3 separate regions of the Homo sapiens genome follow, and all the other regions are linked to region 3. The links are contacts of gene promoters, found by promoter capture Hi-C in blood cells and fetal thymus (Javierre and others, 2016). All regions are on one chromosome and are shown on one strand. Each heading gives the region's core, a stretch centred on a gene start or on the middle of the fragment in contact. The rest is flanking DNA. Distances are from core to core; before and after follow the strand shown. Region 1 holds the start of LTV1 (LTV1 ribosome biogenesis factor). Region 2 holds the start of ZBTB2 (zinc finger and BTB domain containing 2). Region 3 holds the start of STXBP5 (syntaxin binding protein 5).

What was found. Contacts are between HindIII fragments. The CHiCAGO score rates a contact against its expected background, and 5 or more counts as called.
Region 1: the fragment with the promoter of LTV1 here is called in contact with the fragment with the promoter of STXBP5 in region 3 in 1 of 17 cell types (total B cells); the score reaches 6.8 in total B cells.
Region 2: a contact is called between the fragment with the promoter of ZBTB2 here and the fragment with the promoter of STXBP5 in region 3, in 2 of 17 cell types (total B cells and naive CD8 T cells). The highest score is 7.5, in total B cells.

Annotation. Positions count from the first base shown.
Region 1 is chr6:143,841,841-143,844,608 of GRCh38, forward strand. It overlaps LTV1 (LTV1 ribosome biogenesis factor), which reads left to right and starts at 1,498. Exons shown (of 11, transcript NM_032860.5): 1 at 1,498-1,640; 2 at 2,646-2,768. The coding sequence starts at 1,638. RefSeq lists enhancers at 1,302-1,351, 1,532-1,741, 1,932-2,001. The HindIII fragment of the contact is 13,446 bases long and covers 1-2,768 here.
Region 2 is chr6:151,390,081-151,392,828 of GRCh38, forward strand. It overlaps ZBTB2 (zinc finger and BTB domain containing 2), which reads right to left and starts at 1,479. Exons shown (of 3, transcript NM_020861.3): 1 at 1,340-1,479. It overlaps LOC124901232 (translation initiation factor IF-2-like), which reads left to right. Exons shown (of 3, transcript XM_047419613.1): 2 at 1-392; 3 at 625-2,748. The coding sequence ends at 1,524. RefSeq lists silencers at 41-970, 1,051-1,440, 1,451-1,510 and an enhancer at 1,492-2,364. The HindIII fragment of the contact is 3,903 bases long and covers 1-2,699 here.
Region 3 is chr6:147,203,076-147,205,818 of GRCh38, forward strand. It overlaps STXBP5 (syntaxin binding protein 5), which reads left to right and starts at 1,342. Exons shown (of 28, transcript NM_001127715.4): 1 at 1,342-1,607. The coding sequence starts at 1,458. STXBP5-AS1 (STXBP5 antisense RNA 1) reads right to left here and starts at 1,539. Exons shown (of 11, transcript NR_034115.1): 1 at 1,338-1,539. It overlaps LOC124901422 (a long non-coding RNA gene), which reads right to left and starts at 496. Exons shown (of 2, transcript XR_007059803.1): 1 at 1-496. RefSeq lists silencers at 525-944, 975-1,024, 1,045-1,124, 1,295-1,484. The HindIII fragment of the contact is 4,433 bases long and covers 1-1,913 here.

The DNA.
Region 1 (2,768 bases), core at 248-2,747, 3.4 Mb before region 3:
GCTGAAGATAATTGCGTCTCTTTCATAGTGTTGCAGTGAGGATGAAATGAGATGATTCAGATAAAGTGCCAGAACATTAATTCATTTAAATAAATACTTACTGAGCATATATGCCCCATGCATCAGGCCCCTGATGATACAGCAGTAAGTACAACTGATTGAAAGGAAATGAAAACTGCCCCCTTGGATCTTTTAATTCTATATAATGAATAATAACAACGAATCTCTGGCACATAGGAGTGCTATGTATTATCTCTGTTACAAAGCAATATCCTAAGACAAGTTTTATGGTCCTAACCTAAATTATTTCTATATATATATATTTTTGAGACAGAGTTTCGCTCTTGTCGCCCAGGCTGGAGTGCAATGGCATGATCTCAGCTCACTGCAACCTCTGCCTCCCGGGTTCAAGCTATTCTCCTGCCTCAACCTCCCAAGTAGTTGGGATTACAGGCACCTGCCATCACACCTGGCTAAGTTTTGTATTTTTAGTAGAGACGGGGTTTCACCACGTTGGCTAGTCTGGTCTTGAACTCCTGACCTCAGGTGATCCACCCGCTTCGGCCTCCCAAAGTGCTGGGATGACAGACATGAGCCACCGCGCCTGGCCTATTTCTATAATTTTTACTGTAATAAAAGAATAATACTCCACAAATACTTACAGTGATAATGCCTACGGCATAAAGACACAATCCAGGGTAAGCCATTCATTGAGAGGTCACCAGAAACTGGGAAGTTGGGGAAACAAATTTGAAAAAAAGGTCTGCTGATGAAAGTGACTGCATTTACCACACACTTTCGTCCAAGAAAAGCTATGTGAGTACGCCAACGCCGGCCTGAAATCTTCCTAAGAATGCGTGCTTATAGCCTATTTGTTTAAACAGGGGGAGAAAGTTAACATTCAAACACCAGAGATTCTGAATATATTTTATTAGTTCAAATGCCTCTACAGTTAACAGAGTCTCGGGGGTTTGGTTAACAGGGCAGATGAAAGCAGTTCATGAAACAGTGGAAAATATAACCTGATCAAGTCTGATGCAGTCTATAAAGGCAAGGCCCCAGCCTCCGTTGCTACGGCAACCGACTCCGCCCCCACCCGGAGAGGGAACCTGAAACTTGGCGACCCCAGCACCCCAGCGGGGTGGTCGCCTCCCTTCCGTGTCCGCGGCTTTGTTTTTTATGGTTGGGAATAGGTAAGGGACACAAGTCAAGGGGGATGCTAGATTCGTCCCCTCTGGTCTCCGTAGAGGGAGCTATAAAAGGTTCGTCCACAAGCAGAAACCCCTCTGTGGCGCCTCAACGTTAAGGACCCCCACGATTCCCTTTGCCCGGCGGGAGACTAAAGGCCGGAAAAGTACAGCCCGCCCAGGGGTGGGAGCCGAGCTAGCCCCACCTCCCGGTGGCTTCTCGCGATCGTGGAGACGCAGCGAGCCTATGTAACTTCCGGTCGCGACCCATCAGCTCCTCGGCGATTGGTCCGTTTCCACGGCCGGCTGGGTGACGTTATCGCCGGGTCCTGGGGCTGCACGTGTGGTGAGGCCTACAGAAGCGGCCTTCAGCTGGACCTTGGTCTCCCCGCCGGACTTCGAGGGTGTCATCGCCGCCCCTGTTGGGGGTGAGCGCCGCGCGGCTGCAGCATGGTGAGCAAGCCTTGCTTGTTTCGGCGGCCGAGCGCTGTGGTTTTGCAGAGGCCAGGCTGCTTCCGGTAATACCTTGGCTACTGCGGCCCGGGTCTGGGTCATGCCAGAGGCTGCTTGCGGCACGGTACCCCGAAATGGGCCAACGTCACCACCGTGGGCATTCTTTGCAAGTTACAGTCTCCCACCGCCGAGCCTCCCTGGGATGTGGCCCGGAGAGGAGAATGGCCTTTTTGTTTTATCCCTGGGAGCCTGCAGCCCTGCGTGATTTCGGTTAACTAAAAGCTGGTGACTGCCGACACAAACGCGCAACCCTGTGCTTCTTGGGGTCGAGCAGAGGGAGCTGCTGGTCTCCCTCAGCGTTGGAGTGGCAGGTGTCTGCCTGTCTGTTTCCTCTGAGAAAGGGAACTTGTGGGAGAGCATAAGGTTGGGCCCAAAGTAAAGCCACTTAATTGGTTTCCCAGTTTAGAGAATCAAAATTGAATAGCGAAGTAAGAATGTAGAAAGAGGTGATGGATCTTATTAAACTTTAGCTGTTTGTGTCGTGATTTTATTTACTGGTTGGTAGATGCTCTGTGTGGAGCTGTCTACTCCAGATTATGTTGTGGCAGGCTTCTTGTCATTCTAGTTCAGTCGGCCAGGGGCCTTCCCTGAGCAGCCAGTGTAAAGTAGCTTTTAAGGCATTTTCACGTCACTGTCTTATATTTTCTTCACCGGAAATTATCTTGATTTTCTTGCTAAGAACAGGGACTTTATCTGACTTTCCCACTTCTGTATTCTCAGTTCCCATAACAAGGTCTGGCACAAAGTAGGTGCTCAAGGAATGTTTGTTGAAGGAAGGTTAAGTATGGATTCTGCAGAACACAGCTGATGTTGCCTGCCCTAGAAGTGTAGATTTTTAAAAAGTATCTTTAACATGACTACTAAAGATGCATGTGTGGACTATGGAATTATTCTCCGTCTTTTTGTTCTGTTTTAATTAATTGTTGTGATTTTGTTCCTTTGAAGCCTCACAGGAAGAAAAAGCCCTTTATAGAGAAGAAGAAAGCTGTGTCTTTTCACTTGGTCCACCGGAGCCAACGAGATCCTTTAGCAGCAGATGAGAGTGCACCCCAGAGGGTTCTATTGCCC
Region 2 (2,748 bases), core at 229-2,728, 4.2 Mb after region 3:
CTCGGGGCCAAACCGGGCTGTATCGCAGGCGCAGATGGCGCGTCGGGCGGAAGCTGGAGGCCGCCGGCTCAACACGCTCCGTACCCGGGACTGGGGCCCGGCCTGCAGCCTCAGCGAGCAGGCGACAAGGGCGGCGCCACAGAGGCCGACGCGTCCCCCGCCCGCCTGAGCGCGCCGCAACAGCCACCTCGTCCCACCCGCCCCGGGGCGGGGCCGGGGGCGCGGCGCCGGGGCCCTCTGGCCCCCTCCGGTCTCGCCGGCCCCGCCCCCTCCCTGTCCCCGTCCCCGAGGGGCTGAGGGGGAGGGAGGGGCGACGCACTCCGGCCGCGTTGCACGCTCGCCGCTTCCCTCAGTCCCGCGTGCGCGCGCGCGCTCGCCCCAAGTCCCGCGGAGTTTAACACAATGCCGACGCCTACGCCGTGCGCAACGCCCCGGCCGGCGCAACAGCCCCGGCGCCGGGGGCGGGGGTGGCCCAGACAGGGAGAGAGGGAGAGGGATGAGCGCGCGCGAGAGCCGGAGACAGCGCGAGACCCGAGGAGGCCGGAAGCGCGCGTGCGCGCCCCCGCCCGCGAGCGGGAGGCGGAGCCGCAGCAGTAGCGGCAGCAGCTGTAGGAGCCGCTGCAGCTGGGAGAAGCGCCAGAGAGGCCGGGCCTGCTCCGGTCGGACCGGATCCCTCCCCTCCCCCTCCCTCCTCCCTCCCCTCCCCCAAACCCACTTCCGCAGCTCGCGGCCTTGCCGCCGAAGCAGCAGCGGCGGCAGCAGCAGGAGGCGGCGGCGAGGCGTCGGAAGGATTACGCACCTGACGGGCCCGCCTCTGAGGGCTCCAGCGCGGGACGCTCACCGGCCGCCGCCGCCCAGGGCGCACTTCGCGGTGGCGGCGGGAAGGGAGGGACCGGCCACGGGGAACCGAACGCGAATCGCCCCCCTCCCCTTCCTCCCTCCCACCCTCCCTCCGATCCGCCGCCCGCCCTCTCGGCTTCCGTCCCCTCCCCCTCCCACAAAACCCCGGATGGAGGCGCCGCCGACTCGCCGCCGCCTGGCTCCGGGGGATGGTTTTGTCAAGCGGCCAGAGCCCCGGCGCCAGGCGCAGCCGCCGCCGCCCCCGCGAGGCGCCCCTGCCCTCGCTTCCCAGAACCGGGTCCCCGAGTGGCCCGGGCCTTCCGCCTGCCTGCACCCGTAGCCCTGGTACGAGGGTCATTCGTCGTCTTTGTTGCCACCGCCTCTGCCGGAACCGTTTGCGAGCTCCGGTGGCCCCCGCCCCCCCACCGCCTTCCCGGACCCTGGGCTGGGGGTGGCACGTGGGCACCGGCCCCGGGAGGCGGAGGCGGTGCGCGCTTACCTGTCGCCGGTGCTGCTGCGGCGGGGGGTGTGGAGGAGGCGCCTCTGGGCAGCCTCGGCCGTGCTGTCCTCCCCGCCGCCGCCGCCTCTGCCTCTCGCTGCTGCTGCTGCTGCTGCCGCCGCGGTCGGTGTCTCCGGCGCGGCGGCGGCGGCGGCGGCGGGGCTTTTCCTGTCCGGTTACGTTAAGGTCACATGACCGAGAGAGCGGAGAGACTAGTGCAAAGAGGCTGCGAGCGGCTCCCGCCGGGGGGGAGAGGCGGCGAGAGAGCAGTGGCGGCAAGAGCCCCCTCCGCCCCCCCCCCAGCCGCTCCCCTCCCCCCGCCCGCCTCCGCCTCCTGCTGCTCTGCCGCCGCCGCCGCCGCCTGCAGCACTCCACTGCCGCTCCCACCCAGGCTCCGCGCTCTGCTCCAGCCAAACTTCTGCAGACCATGTGCAGCCGAGGCGAGGAAACTTCTCTCCACCTATTGGGGCTGGAGGCCTGAGTCACAAGCCCCTTGTTTACATAAAGTGTTTAGGTAGCACAAGTCCTTGAGATGCTCGGGGTAGAGATGGAGAGCCACTGCTCGTATCCTTCTGCCGGCTTCTGCTTGAGATCTCTTGGCCTTTACCCTTGTCCCTTGACTTTTCGTGTTTGTTTTAATCTTTAAGACTTGAAATGGAGTGGCCTTTAGAACCGGGGAGATACTGTAAACCAGCAGTATCTTTGTGTCACCAATGGTAACTGAAAGTCATGCTGAAGTACAGATTCCTGTAGCGTGCACAGAGGCAGAGGTGCTTCCTTTACCTTGCAGATGAGTTGAGCGGCGTAAGATGTTTCTGTTAGGGTTGAATTTCATGGTTATTTCAGCAACGATTTTCGTTTTTGAAGTTTTGGCCCCCCCAAAAATGAAAGTCTGCAACGCATGTTTGTTAAGAGAACAGTTTATTCTCCTGTTAGGTTTTGGTCTTTGAGGTATGGATTCCAGAGTTGGCTATTCTGTTAGATTTAGAGGTGTGGAAAATCTTTTAACGGGGAGATCCTGAAACACGGAAACATGGCAGGGAAGTTAGAATTTCCTGATGGTCATTTTTAACATTTTAAAGTTTACTTTTTGGTTGTTGCCATTTTTCTAGAATCCGTGTCTTTTTTGGGGAAATACAGTCCTTTGAGGACTAGAATTTAATGATTTCTTTACACATCTAGGATTTTTTGAGATTTAGAAAGGATATGGCTTTATTCCTAAGGAAGTGGAGGCAGCAGTTTCTAGGATACTCTGGTTTCAAGGCATGCTAACTTGGTTGTGATGTCTAACCCATTTTGGTTTACACAGTCTGACCACTAGCACAATGCCTGGCACATAGTTTACAAATCATTTAAGGCAAGCTTACCATCTTAAGACAATTTAATACATAGAAGTGTCCCTCCTAAAA
Region 3 (2,743 bases), core at 92-2,591:
CGGCGTTTCCTGCCACCCGCGCTCCTCCCCGGCGAGGGGCTGGGTGCGGGGTAGTGTCATCGGCCCGGGCTGACACCGGCCCTGGAACCGTTCCCCGCTGGCAGCCTCTTCCATCCCAGCAGCTAACTGCTAAGACCAGACACGTTCCACCAACAGTAACAGCTGTAGGAAAGAACCCGTTTTTTCCCGTCTAGGTTTCTCTCCTTTTCCTAGTACCTAAGTCCATCATCCTCCTGCCACTGACATATCGTTGTCTAGACGCTCTTTTTCAAAACTCAAATCCAATCAAACAAAAACAACGCCCGTCAATAAAGCAAGAAAAATAATACTGCAGCCAGCGGCCAGGAGCGTGCACCCCATTAACGGCGAGAAAGCATCAACCCCTGCTGTAATGACTGAATTGGAAAGAAAGGTTTCCTGCTGCTTGTTAGTCGTCAACATTTTTACTATGCCAGCTGCAAGAGAAGCAGCTGCATACTCTGGCAACTCGACTGGGGTGGGAGAAATTTAGCCAGCGTCTGGGATTTTCGCAGAAGATAATTTAAGCCCCAGCTTCGCTCGGGCTGGGGGGCTGGGGGCCTGCTGGGCCAGGGTGGGGGAACCGGGCTGCGGCGCGCATGCGCAGGTACCGCAGCCCGGCTCCTGGGAGGCCCTGCTGCCGCCACCGCCGCGGCCCGCGCTGTAACCGCGGCTGCCGCTGCTGCTCCGGGCGGGCGTTGGTGCCGTGTGCCGAGGCGCCCTGTCAGGCGATGGGGAGCGGCTGGGCGGGGAGAGCCGACGGCCGCGGCGGCGCCTGAGGAACGCAGCCGGGCTCGGGAGCGGCGAGGGCGGGCCGGTCCAGCGGCGGAGGAGCGAGGCGGGGCGAGGCAGGCGGCGCGGGGACCCACACCAGGCGCCTTGTGTGCGAGGCCGAGCGGCGGCCGCGGACAGAGAGCCGGCGACCCCCGGCAGGAGGAGAAGGAGCCGGAGGACGCGCCGAGGGACTGCGGGGCCGGGGCGGGCGAGCAGCGGCGCGGCCGCGGGCCATGGACGCAGCGGCGACGGTGGCGGCGCCGGGGGCGAGCCGGGGCGGCGGCGCGGCGCAGAGTCCGCCCGCGGCCAGGTGAGGCTGGGCTGAGCGGGCTCGGGCGCCGCCGCCACTGCTGCTGCTGCTGCTGCCGGGCCGCGGAGCGAGGCGGCGGCGGCGGCGGCTGAATCGGCACCACAGCAGCCGCGCCAAGCAGCGGCGGCCTCGGAGGAAGAGGGGTCGCCGCCCAGGTTTCTTGCGGCCGCCGCTCTTGTCGTCGCAGTATTTCCTGTTCGGATTATCTTTTGCTTCCCCCCAGCTGCCTCCTTACCCTCACACTCCCACTCCTCCGTTTCCGCGGTCGAAGCTGCCTTCGGCCCCGGGTGGTCTCCCCCGCCCGGGGACCCCCTGTGCCTCCCCTCCCGGGCTGCGGGGGAGCCCCTCCGAGACCATGAGGAAATTCAACATCAGGAAGGTGCTGGACGGCCTGACCGCCGGCTCGTCCTCGGCGTCGCAGCAGCAACAGCAGCAGCATCCGCCTGGGAACCGGGAGCCGGAGATCCAGGAAACGCTCCAGTCCGAGCACTTTCAGCTCTGCAAGGTGAACGGAGCGCGCAGCCCCGCGACACCGTCATTGAAAAATTGGGGTTGTTTTAAGGGGGCTACTCGGGCTTTACATGGGAATGCAAGGGAAGAGAACGCCAATAATAATAATAATAACTCTAATAAAAGGCTCGCTCCTCCCTTGGCAAACGTTTCTTCGGTGGGTTGTTTTGGAGATTGATACCTTACTCCTTTTCATTGATTTTTCTCTCTCCCCTTTGCACATGCAGCAATCAGTTCAAGGTTGCTTCAAACTATTATCCGACCTTTAATCGTATTCTGACACTGCCAGTAATAACCTGGAAGCTTTTATATTCAAGCGTTTTAATATGATTCACCAACTTCGAAGTTTCCTTTGGAAACGGTGTCTAATGAATGTTGTTTATCAAAAAGCCAAACCTGTTCTACCACACCTTTGCTCATCACTTTTCCCTTAAAATGTGGTGTAAGTGGCTTACGATATGAAATCACAGGGTTCTTTTTATCATTATGTTTGTTAAAAAGTACTGAGATTTTTGCCTGTTAATGGCACGATAATTGCCATAGCGTTCTGTAATTCAGAAAGAATGATGCAGCGAATTAAGTCACCAGCTGCTTAATGAGAAACACAAACTTGCCTCGGTTTTAATACCTGCCTTTCTCATAAATAGCCATGTATTTGTATGTCAGAGTTAATTAAAAGTGTGCATATATATATATATATATATATATATAGGTCTAATGCCCTAAAATGATTATGGCCTTAATAGTAAATTGCAAAAATGTATGTTGTACTCATCTTCATTCTGTTACAAGTGTAAAATGTTGGGATAGAGGTTTGATTATTGCTCTACTGAATGCTTGACTAAAGTAATTATATGACAGCTTTTCCTTAGAAGTACTTGCGTTAGCATCCAAATAAAGTAATGATGAAATGAATACTGCCAAAATAAAGTATGAATTGCATTTAATGGGTTTACAGAATTTTGGACCATTGCAAACTTTAGTCATCTGGTGTCGGATGTAGTAGTATAGAATATTAATAAAAGATTTTCTTCTATGGAATACCAGTATTATGGAAAAGCGAAATTAAAGTATATCACTGGACTAGATTTTTGTTTGTTTCAGGTTCTATGTGAATAACTTTGTTAATGT